Regions from separate parts of the Homo sapiens genome. Here regions 1, 2 and 3 are each linked to region 4. The links are contacts of gene promoters, found by promoter capture Hi-C in blood cells and fetal thymus (Javierre and others, 2016). All regions are on one chromosome and are shown on one strand. The core of a region is centred on a gene start or on the middle of the fragment in contact, and the rest is flanking DNA. Distances in the headings are between cores, read along the strand shown.

What was found. The method cuts DNA at HindIII sites, captures the fragments that hold promoters and counts their contacts. A CHiCAGO score of 5 or more calls a contact.
Region 1: the fragment with the promoter of BTBD6 here is called in contact with the fragment with the promoter of LINC02280 in region 4 in 2 of 17 cell types (neutrophils and erythroblasts); the score reaches 9.8 in neutrophils.
Region 2: a fragment that was not itself captured here is called in contact with the fragment with the promoter of LINC02280 in region 4 in 4 of 17 cell types (naive B cells, M0 macrophages, M1 macrophages and 1 more); the score reaches 7.1 in naive B cells.
Region 3: the fragment with the promoter of TDRD9 here is called in contact with the fragment with the promoter of LINC02280 in region 4 in 4 of 17 cell types (M1 macrophages, naive CD8 T cells, erythroblasts and 1 more); the score reaches 7.9 in M1 macrophages.

The regions. Positions count from the first base shown.
Region 1 is chr14:105,247,254-105,249,953 of GRCh38, forward strand. BTBD6 (BTB domain containing 6) reads left to right here and starts at 1,280. Exons shown (of 4, transcript NM_001387567.1): 1 at 1,280-1,832; 2 at 1,904-1,994; 3 at 2,107-2,225; 4 at 2,387-2,700. The coding sequence starts at 1,459. All of the region lies in intron 5 of BRF1 (BRF1 general transcription factor IIIB subunit), which reads right to left. RefSeq lists enhancers at 906-1,696, 2,488-2,700 and silencers at 1,072-1,631, 1,832-1,881. The HindIII fragment of the contact is 26,340 bases long and covers 1-2,700 here.
Region 2 is chr14:104,087,201-104,090,098 of GRCh38, forward strand. All of the region lies in intron 1 of ASPG (asparaginase), which reads left to right. Among named protein-coding and RNA genes, the nearest start is that of ASPG, 3.0 kb to the left of the region's middle. The HindIII fragment of the contact is 178 bases long and covers 1,558-1,735 here.
Region 3 is chr14:103,927,005-103,929,790 of GRCh38, forward strand. TDRD9 (tudor domain containing 9) reads left to right here and starts at 1,452. Exons shown (of 36, transcript NM_153046.3): 1 at 1,452-1,720. The coding sequence starts at 1,506. The HindIII fragment of the contact is 2,314 bases long and covers 1,233-2,786 here.
Region 4 is chr14:104,664,260-104,667,124 of GRCh38, forward strand. LINC02280 (long intergenic non-protein coding RNA 2280) reads right to left here and starts at 1,299. Exons shown (of 2, transcript NR_135293.1): 1 at 474-1,299. RefSeq lists an enhancer at 1,229-1,991. The HindIII fragment of the contact is 24,946 bases long and covers 1-2,865 here.

The DNA.
Region 1 (2,700 bases), core at 30-2,529, 580 kb after region 4:
CAAACGGCTTGGCCGTGCGGAGTTACGCACCCACCTGCAGCAGGTGATCTCCAGCTGCTCTGCATTCCACCAACACTACGTGACAAGTCTCAAGTTCAGCCGCCTGGGGGCTCGGGCACCCCATTCCTGGGAGAAATGATGATTTGTGCACTCTGGGCCATTGCATGGTGTCTGTTCACGTCCTTTGCCCGTTTTTTAAAAAACTGGGTTGTCAGCCTTTTCCTTCCTGACTTGTAGTTGCTCCTCCATCCTGGAGAGTCCTTTGTTGAAAATACCGCAAATATCTTCTGAAGAGGACTCTCCCAGGGAACATTCACTACAACTGTAACGACCACAGAGACACAGAGCTCCTGTTCACTGTTTAGCCCAGGACTGCGGTGACAGGTGCACCCATGACCCGAGATGCTGGCTGCGTCCTGTGGGGTTTCCTGCATATGGAAGTTTTAAAAGTCTAAAGCCTGGCGGTCCAGGAGGTTGCGTGTGTGTCCTCGGGGAGGAACCCTCCTGACAGCCAGGCCTCTGGAGCTTCGTCTGCACGCGAGCTTGGCATGCACCAGCTGTGCGGCCCAGGCCAGGTGACACGGCCTCTGAAGTCTGGTCTCCTCATCAGCAAAGCCAGTGCCCCATGCCACGCACCTCCCAGGATTAGCCCCAGGCCGGGAGGCTAGAGGCCCCACAAGGAGCGAGCCTGCGACTGCGATCCACAGGCAGAGCCACAGAGGCAGGGCGCGCCCTGGGGCCCAAGCTCCAGGGCTGCAGGCCCAGGGCCAGATCCTGACTTGCCCACCCGCCGGCTGTGTGACCTTCAGCGCGCGACTAACCTCTCTGTGCCTATTTCCTCGAGGAAAATGCCGGGAAATAGCAGCGCCTGCCCCTGTAAAGCCCTCAGAGCAGAGTGGACCGCGCTCTCTGCAAGCGCTGGCTGCTGGCGTCCGTAGCAAGCTAAATCGCGAAGCATCTGAACGAACGAGGAAGCCCAACGACCATCCCACAGGCCGCGGCCAGAGGCAGACTCCGGAATGCAAATGGCCAAACAAGCAGGTCCACCTGCGTTCCTAACCAAAAGATCGCTAACTGAAGAACGGGCGCAAGCACCTGCGCATGGCACTGCGGGTCTGGGGGCGGCCGCCTGCCAGCGCCGGGAGCCGCCTTCCACGGCTACCTCTGCACAGCGCGCGGCTCGCGCCGGTTGCTGGGCAGAAGCTCGAGCAGCTTCGAGGATGTCGGGCCTGGGGGCGGGGCCGCGAGGCAGCGACGTCGCGCGGGGCGCGGCCCTGACGCAGCGTGACGCACCGGCGCCGCGGCGGGTACGGGCTCGGGCGGGCGGGCGGGCGGGACGGCGCCCCCCGCGGCCGGGCCTGGCCGGGCTGCGCTAGGCTGGGCTCGGGCAGGGTCGCAGGGGCGGGGGTGGCAGGGGAGCGGGTGGCAGCCCCGCGGGTCACAGCGCCGCCGCCGCCCATGCTGCTGCCCCTAGCCTGCCTGCACGGCCGCGTCGCTCAGTGCCTGACCTCCTTGCTTTTGCTTGCAGAGCCGCTCCCGAGGCCCCGGCGCGGCGCGAGGGCGCGGGGCGCGGCGTCCACAGGCGCCGAGGCTGCCCCCGCCGCCCCGCCCGCGAAGATGGCGGCGGAACTCTACGCTCCCGCCAGCGCCGCGGCCGCGGACCTAGCCAACAGCAACGCCGGCGCCGCCGTGGGCAGGAAGGCCGGGCCGCGCAGCCCGCCCAGCGCCCCCGCGCCAGCGCCGCCGCCGCCCGCGCCCGCGCCGCCCACACTCGGCAACAACCACCAGGAGAGCCCCGGCTGGCGGTGCTGCCGCCCCACGCTGCGCGAGAGGTGAGCCCGTGCCCCGCGGCCCCCGCGCCCGCGCGCGCCCACGCCCCCAGCCCGTGCCTCTACCTTTGCAGGAACGCGCTCATGTTCAACAACGAGCTCATGGCCGACGTGCACTTCGTCGTGGGGCCCCCGGGGGCGACCAGGACGGTGCCCGCCCACAAGGTGGGTAGCGGCGGCCCCTCTCGGAACGCGTGCCCCGTCCGCCCCGTCCGCCGTGTGGCTGACACGCAGCCTGCGGGAGAGCCAGGCTCACGGCGGCGCTTTCTCCTCCCAGTACGTCTTGGCTGTCGGCAGCTCCGTCTTCTATGCCATGTTCTACGGAGACCTGGCGGAAGTCAAATCTGAAATTCACATTCCAGACGTGGAGCCCGCAGCCTTTCTGATCCTCTTAAAGTAAGTCCACTCTACTGGGGAGGGACGGGTGGGTCCGTTTTAGGCGGCCTCCGGAGGCTTCTGAAGGGAAGCACACAGGAGCTGATGGACTCCTCTCCCAGGCCCAGCCCCGCGATGGGTGCTTGGGAGCCAGCCCCTGACGCGGGCCCTGCCTCGCCTAGGTACATGTACAGTGATGAGATCGATCTGGAAGCCGACACGGTGCTGGCCACTCTGTACGCTGCTAAGAAGTACATCGTCCCAGCATTGGCAAAAGCCTGTGTCAACTTTCTGGAGACAAGTTTGGAAGCCAAGAACGCCTGCGTCCTGCTGTCCCAGAGCCGGCTGTTTGAGGAGCCCGAGCTGACGCAGCGCTGCTGGGAGGTCATTGACGCACAGGCCGAGATGGCCCTACGGTCCGAAGGCTTCTGTGAGATAGACCGGCAGACGCTGGAGATCATTGTCACTCGGGAGGCCCTCAACACCAAAGAGGCGG
Region 2 (2,898 bases), core at 397-2,896, 580 kb before region 4:
GCTGCCGGGAGCCTCCTCTGCACTTCTCCTTCTGCCTGTGAATGGAACAAAGTCATTCACAGCTTGGCAAACGCCCCTGTGTGACACTCCACTGACACAGAGTGACACAATTCCTGTGCTTGGCCCTCACAAGCTAGAGAGAGAGGCTGCCATTGAAGGGATGGCATGCATTAAGGAGCTAGTCCCAGGGGCAGGATCTGCCAGGGCCCTGTAGGGGCTGTGGGCTGATAACAGGGTCTGAGCTGGGTGTGTGGATGGTGTGGAGTTTGGAGGCAGCCCAGGGAGGGCTTCTCTGAGGACACAAGGCCTGCAGGACAAAGATGGGAGAGGGCCAGGCCAGGAGCAGCCCTGCAAGGTGCAGGAAAGAGGAGTGGGGAGCCCAGCAGGGCCGGAGCCTGCCAGAGCTGCCCCCGAGTGGGGACAGGACCTGGGGACTCTGTGTGGGGCCTCGTCCGACGCCCCTGACGCTACCCCTTCAGGCTTGGAGTGTGGCCAACTGCAGTTTCGTTGAGCTCAACATGTAGTTCTTGAGTGGTCCGAGCTGCAGGGGCAGGTGGACTCTGTAACCCCACCACACACCCGTCTCGCTTGGCCCCCGCGTGCTCGCCGCAGCAGCCTGTGGGTGCACTCACACGCGTGCACCGCATTTCTGAAAGAGGCTGTGAGGTCCTGTGTCTGGGTGGGAAACAAGAGACTTGGAGGCTGGAAATTGGGTGTGGGGCGTCAGTCTTCAGACCTGAAGCAGCCTTCTGAGATCCCTTGGTGCTCTGTGCACTGGGGTCCTGGCTTCTGCTCAGCAGCCCGTCCTCGTGTGGCTGCGAGGTCACCCCCAGCTGTTGCTAGCTGACCCATGTGGGGCATCCACTTCCAGGAACCTGCAGGAATGGGCTCCCCCAACCCCTCGTGAGGTTGGAGCAGCCAGACTGTCAGGCGTCAATGATTTACTCCCTCCACACTGCTGACGTGGGCTCTGGCCTTCCCTGGGGAGGTGAGAGGGGAGTGGTGGCTTTGCCCTAGTAAAGCTGTTTGATTGTCGCTGTTGGAACGGCTTCTGCGCCTGCTGGTAAACAGTGACCTGTGGGTGGAACGCTGCACACCTGGAGCCCTGCCAGAGTTCAGGGAGGGCAGAGGTGATGCCAGTGGGGACGCCCCTTGACCCATCCCTTCTCTGAGTTCATTGAAGCTATCACAGGTCAAGGGGCATAGCGAATCCAAACACGGCTGATAACCCCAAGCCCAAGCTGGCATCAGTGGCCACGTTCTGTACACCCGAGAAACTTGAAGACTTCCTATGTCAAACTGGGAACCCCACCTGCTTGCCGGCCTGTCCCAAAGTCCCTCCTGAGCCCGGCTCCTTGCAGGCACAGCAGGGAGGGCAGAGATCTGGGGCCAGGCAGCTGAGAGAAGCTCCCTGCCCGGTGACCACACGGGTCCCAGCAGTCGAGAGTGTCAGTGGAGTGATGCCCATGGCTTCTTGGTTACTGCAGTGGCGTCTGTGCCCTTGGCCTGGACCTCCTTCCTGAATGGGTGCTACACGTTCACAAGTTTCTAAGCCTAAGCTTGACTTCGCTGGTGACAGTGGGGCCCATTGTCTTAGAGAGCAAAGCCTCCTTTCCAGGTGTTTGGCAGGGGGCTGAGGAGTTTCCAAGTCACCAGCAAACTCAGGCACCTGCCTGGATGGGCCAAGGAAGAGGTTCCAGGCAGGGCTGGAGGGTTCAGATTCTGCAGCCCTTGAAGCTTTTGGAGGGCCCTCATTGAGAAAAGTAATACAAGTTACAAAATCATAGTTAGGTGTGAAAGCCGGTGTTTGTTTATTTTTTATTTATTTTTATTTTTTTGAGATGGAGTCTCACTCTGTCGCCCAGACTGGAGTGCAGTGGCGCGATCTCAGCTCACTGCAAGCTCTGCCTCCCGGGTTCACACCATTCTCCTGCCTCAGCCTCCCGAGTAGCTGGGACTACAGGCGCCCGCCACCGTGCCCGGCTGAAAGCTGGTGTTTATTTAAAATAACAAAAGAAATTGCCCCAGCTGACTGGGCGCGGTGGCTCACACCTGTAATCCCAGCACTTTGGGAGGCTGAGGTGGGTGGATCACTTGAGATCGGGAGTTCAAGACCAGCCATGGACAACATGGTGAAACCCTGTCTCTACTAAAAATACAAAAAAAAAATTAGCCAGATGTGGTGGCAGATGCCTGTGGTCCCAGCTACTGGGGAGGCTGAGGCATGAGAATCGCTTGAACCCAGGAGGTGGAGGTTGCAGTGAGCCGAGATCTCGCCACTGCACTCCAGCCTGAGTGACAGAGTGAGACCCTGTCTCAAACAAACAAAAAAAACTGATGCCACTACATACCTGTTAGAATGGCTGCTGACGTACAACACATTGACTGCGGGGTGAGTGCTGGAGCCCCAGAGTTGGAAAGTGGTCCACTCGCAGGTTGGTAAGAAAACTTTACTGGCGACAGTATAGGTTTGAAAAAGGAACGTTTGGCCAGACATGGTGGCTCAGGCCTGTAATTCCAACACTTTGGGAGGCCAAGGCGGGTGGTTCACTTGCCTTGCTAACATGGCGAAACCCCGTCTCTACTAAAAATAAAAAATTAGCTAGGTGTGGTGGTGCATGCCTGTAATCCCGGCTACTCGGGAGGCTAAGGCAGGAGAATTGCTTGAGCCGGGTGGGTGGAGGTTGCAGTGAGTCGAGATGGCATCACTGTACTCCAGCCTGGGCAACAGAGTGAGACTCTGCCTCAAAAAAAAAAAAAAAAAAAAAAAAAAAGGAAGAAAGGAGAAGAAAAAGAAAAAAGAAAGAAATTGGCCAGGCTGGTTTTGAACTCCTGGGCTCAAATGATCTTCCTGCATCAGCCTCCCAAAATTCTGGGATTACAGGTGTGAGCCATAAA
Region 3 (2,786 bases), core at 202-2,701, 740 kb before region 4:
AGCCGGTGTGGTGGTGGCGTGAGCCTGTAGTTCCAGCTATGCAGGAGGTTGTGGTGGGAGCATCACCTGAGCCCCCGAAGTTGAGGCTGCAGTGAGCCCTGATTGCAGCACGGCACTCCAGCCTCAGCGACAGGAGTGAGACCCTGCCTCAAAAGAAAAAAGAAAAGCAAGTTATTTCTTCCTGGCAAAGTGTGTTGAGGCACTTTTGGGAACCTGTCGTATTTGGCAGAGTCCTAATATGAGGTCTAGAGCTCATTATGCCAGGATTTGGAGCCAGAACTCCTGGCTTAGTATGATTATGGGTTCAATTTTTGAGACACCAATAGCTCAACCTACCTGCCTGATTTCTGTCTACAGTGTTTTCAAACCGCCCTCTTATTTGCCACTGCTTGGGCTTTACACTGCTGATTAGAGCCATGCTCTCGATACCGTCTCTGTATTTGTTCACATGGCTCTTTCCTGAGAGCCCACATGGGCCAGATAGATCCTGCCCTGGCCAGTGAGGGGGACACACCCCAGGCAGGTGGCCATGTCTCTCTTCTGACCCTCCCTTCCCTTGCACACGTGGCTGCCTTCCCGTGCATCCTTTGTTGATTTCTTCCCGCGGCTCCTTCTTTTGGGGAGTTTGCTAGGGCTCTGTTCTCCACCCTCACTCTTCTAGAGCTCGGCCGGGACCACCTCAGCCTGTATCTTTGGTCCATGTGATCGCCTGGACCTCCTGTCCGCACCTGTTTGTGTCCAGCTGTGAGTCTGACACCGCCGCCTGAGACACCGGTTTAGGAAGGAAGATGAATTCAGTTATGATCCGGCTGCAAAGAACTTCTCCCAGATCCTCACCTCAGCCATCAGGGCCGCCTGCCCTCCCCTATAACCCTGGGTGGTCCTCCGTCTGGCGCATTCCCCCGTATCCTGCAGGGGTCTGCCTGGCGTTACTTTCTCCGAGACCTTCCTGACCTTCTTCTTGCCCCTCTCCCCCCATATTAGGTGCAAGGATGTCCTGGTACGTCTGACCCACGAACGCAAATCCCTTCTCTGGTTTGCCTTCCATCTCCTCACCCTGAGGTGCTCAAGAAACGTATGTAGGGTCCCGGTCCGCTCAAAGCGCACAAACCTCCGAGGCAGCAGCCTCTAAATAGAGAGGCCAGGGAGTGACCGGAGGGCATTTTCTTGTACACACAGGGGTTGCCACGGAACTCCCGTGAAACAGACTCCCGGGCCAGCCGCGGCGCTCAAGCTTCCCCTGAGGTCCTAGAAAGGCTCACCCTGGGCTCGCTCGGGGCGGCGGCTCCCGGCAGGCCTAGCGCGGCGGGGCGGGGCCGGCGGCACGAGGACCAGGCAGCGCGGGCAGCACGCGCCCGGGCCGGAGCCCGCCCACAAGGGCGCGCGGCGCGTTCTGATTGGAAGGCCTCGAGCGGGGGCGGGGCTTCCAGGGTGCGCTTCCGCCGTCGCCTGTTCCCGCCGCGGAGACCCGGCAGTTGGGGGATGCCGACGCCTGGGCCTTGAGGATGCTGCGGAAGCTCACCATCGAGCAGATCAACGACTGGTTCACCATCGGCAAGACGGTGACCAATGTGGAGCTGCTGGGCGCGCCGCCCGCCTTCCCGGCAGGGGCGGCCAGGGAGGAGGTGCAGCGCCAGGACGTGGCCCCCGGCGCTGGTCCCGCGGCCCAGGCTCCGGCTCTGGCCCAAGCTCCGGCCCGGCCGGCCGCTGCGTTCGAAAGGTAGGACGCGGGCGGGGCGGAGGCGGCTGGAGGGCGGCCGGGCGAGGCCTGGCGACGAGGGCACGGGCCATCCAGATCCTTCTCGCGAGCCCGTGCCCTCTCGCGGGGCTCCAGGGACCCCTGACCGTCCAGGGCGAGTGGTCACTACACAACCCGACGCGCGGCCCAGAGCGGTGCCTGTAAGGAAGCTGAGCTAGAGGTTTTTTTTTTTTTTTTTTTTTCAGTTCTTAATGTTTAACAGACTAGTTTTTGAGGCACTCAGGTTTTCAGGATAACGGAGCGGAGGGCAGAGGTCCCATAGGCCCCTTCCCTCCCAGAGTTTCCCCTGTGAGCATCTGCGTAAGGTGTGGGTATTTGTGACAGTCGGCGAACCTGCATCGCTGCGTCTTCGTCACCCGGAGGCCATCGTTACAGGAGGGTTCACGCCTCGTACTGGACGTTCTGTGGGTTTGGACAAACGCCTAACGTCACGCATTACAGAGTTCACTGACCTACAGATCTTCTCGGCCCCACTGTTCCTGCCTCCCTTTCCCTACACCACGTGGAAACCACTGATTTTTTTACTGTCTCCATAATTTTGCTTTTCCATACTGTCATCTAGTTGGAATCACACAGTATGTGTAGCCTTTTTGATGGGTTTCTGTCACTTAGTATTAGTATGCATTTGGGGGTTCCTCCATGCCTTTCCATGGTTTGATAGCTTCTTTCCTTTTAGCACTGATTAATATTCCACTGTCTGGATGTACCACAGTTTATCTCCATTCACCTACTGAAGGAGAGCTTGGTTGCTTCCAAGTTCTCCCCCCACCCCCCGAGATGGAGTCTCACTTTGTTACCCAGGCTGGAGTGGAGTGGCGCCATCTCGCCTCACTGCAATCTCCCCCTCCTAGGTTCAAGCGATTCTCCTGCCTCAGCCTCCCGAGTAGCTGAGGCTACAGGCATATGCCACCACGCCTGGCTAATTTTTGTATTTTTAATAGAGACAGGGTTTCACCATGTTGGCCAGGCTAGTCTAGAACTCCTGACCTCAGGTGATCTGCCCACCTCAGCCTCCCAAAGTGCTGGG
Region 4 (2,865 bases), core at 49-2,548:
AGCCTGGGGCTTGGAGGAGGGCGGGTGAGCTGATGAGAACCTCCTCCATGCTCAGCTTCCACCTGCTGGCATCTGTGTGCCCAGCACACAAAGCCTGGGCAACGGGCGACTCCTGTGAGCAGAGCTTCACCCTCTTCCCCTCTCACTACCCCCCACCCCACCTGCAGCCCCTCTCCTCCCTCCCCTTGGTTCGAGATGACCCCAACTCCCCCGGAGATTTCTACTGGGATCTGGTTTGGTTTTTGCTTTTTATGATCCCCTAAACCCATCTTCACCTCCCTGCTAGGGCTCCCCAGGTTGACTGGGGAGGACCCCACATTCCCCATGATTCCACGCAGCAAAAGGCACTTCTGGCAGGAACCCGCATCCCAGGGCAGGCCCTGGGGCACCTTGGGCTGGGGAAGACTGCGGCCCCAAAATCTCCACTCCCTGCGCTGCCATCTGAAACACCACCATGATGGATAATGTCTTACCTAGGGAGAAGGCACCTGTGCTGGAAAAGGAGACCCAAGAGACCCGCCTGGACCGTGTGGGTGAGACCATCGCACCCTCCTGCCGAGGGAGAAGGCACCTGTGCTGGCTAAAAGGGGTCCCAAGAGAACTGCCTGGACAGTGTGGGTGAGGCCATTGCACCCTCCTGCCGAGACGGTGGGCCCTGCTACAGAGCCTGATGCCCCTGAGGAGCTGGGACCACTGTCCTCCCAATACACATACACACACAAACACACACAGAGACACACACCGACACAAACACACAGACACACAGAAACACACACAAACACAGACACACACACAGACACACACAAACACACAGACACACACAAACCCACACACACACAAACACACAGATGCAAACACACACACACAGACACACACACACAGACACACAGAAACACACAGACACACACAAACCCACACACACACACAGATGCAAACACACACAGACACACAAACACACACAGACACACAAACACAAACACACACACACACAGACACACAAACACACAGATGCAAACACACACACAAACACACAGACACACAAACACACAGACACACACACAAACACACAGACACAAGACACACACACAGACACACAGACACACAGACACACAGACACACAGACACAGACAACACACACAAACACAGACACACACATACACACACACAAACACACAGACACACACAAACACACACAGACACACACAGCACACAGACACACACACAAACACACACACACCCTTCACAACCTTCCTGGGCTCTTAGCATTTTCTGTGGGGCTGTCAAGGCAGGAAGATCCAGGAGGGACCCCAGGGCGGGGAGAGACAAACTCTCCCAGCTCAGGAAGGCAGTGTGCTTTCGCCTAAATAACTGAGTGAGCTCACACTAACAGGAAGTGTTTTGATTTTGCAGTCTGAGAGTTAATCCCGTCGCTGGCCAGACATGTTTGCTTTTAGGTTCTCTGGTGGCCCACAGGTCCCAGTTCTGAATGGAAACATCCCGAGGCGGCCCCTCCCCTCCTCAAACTGCACCCTCCCCGGGCATGGCGCTGCCTGCAGGCTGTAGAGAGGGCCTGGGCTTTTTCACACCTTGGGGAGGTGTAGACCAGGGAAAGGAAGAGGAGAAGGATGTGGGCAACCCTCCACCACCAGGGAGCTCCACCACCACTCCGCAGGCCCTGGCGTGGCACCGTCCCCGAGGGCTGGCACCGGGCTGGTGGCAGGCCTCAGCATCAGAGGGTGGCTGAGTCGCACACACCGCCCCTACCCCTCTTCCCGAGACTGAGCCCCTCTCTCTAGCCCCAGAGCAGGAGTCACCCCCAGCCCCACCAGCCACTGCCCATGAAGCTGGTTGGAATTGCCCTCAGCGGCCACAGAGGCCCCAGCGGGGTCCCCAGCCAGGCCGACATGCACTAGCAGCTCAGAAAGAAAGGCCTTGTGTCCAGTGACCTCCCCCAACCTCGGAATGTGGCCGTTCTCTCCTCCCATCCCTACAGTAGGGCTGAGGCTGTCCCGAGTACAAAGGCCTTTTGTCCCCACAACCAGCCCCCACCCGCCGAGGTGACACTGGAGCTGGGAGAGTGGCAGCCTCCATGGCGGCCACAGTGGCTCCCAGCTCCCCTGCAGCAGGGCCTCCCTCCTCCCCCAGGGCCGGGCAGAGGGCACCTGCAGGGCATCTTCCCCGGCACCCCCTGGCTGCAGAGCACCCTGGTGAGAACGATCTAATCGGAGAGCCCAGGCTTATACACAGCTTCTCTCTGCCAGCTGAGAATTTACGTTTCTGATTAACTTGTGTTACCCACAATACACTGTAGACTACAGAAGGCCAGGACCCTCTGAGGTGGTGCAGTGCCCCCAGTCTTGTTCTGGGTGAGGGCTCCACGGACCTCTTTATTTGTCAAAACTCATACACTTTAGTTCTATGCATTTTACTCTGGGTAAACTGTATCTCAGGCCAGGCGCGGTGACTCATGCCTGTAATCCCAGCACTTTGGGAGGCCAAGGTGGGTGGATCATTTGAGGTCAGGAGTTCGAGACCAGCCTGGCCAAAATGGTGAAACCCGTCTCTACTAAAAATACAAAAATTAGCCGGGTGTGGTGGCAGGCACCTGTAGTCCCAGCTACTCAGGAGGTTGAGGCAGGAGAATCGCTTGAACCCGGGAGGTGGAGGTTGCAGTGAGTCAAGATTGTACCACTGCATTCCAGCCTGGGCGACAGAGCAAGACTCTGTCTCAAAAAAAAAAAAAAAAAAAAAAAACTGTATCTCAAAAATACATGGCCACAAAAAAATACATAGTCATTGTTTTAAGACACCAGAAAATACAGGCAAGCCGAAAGAATTCTGAACAACCAACGGCCGCTGCCCGAG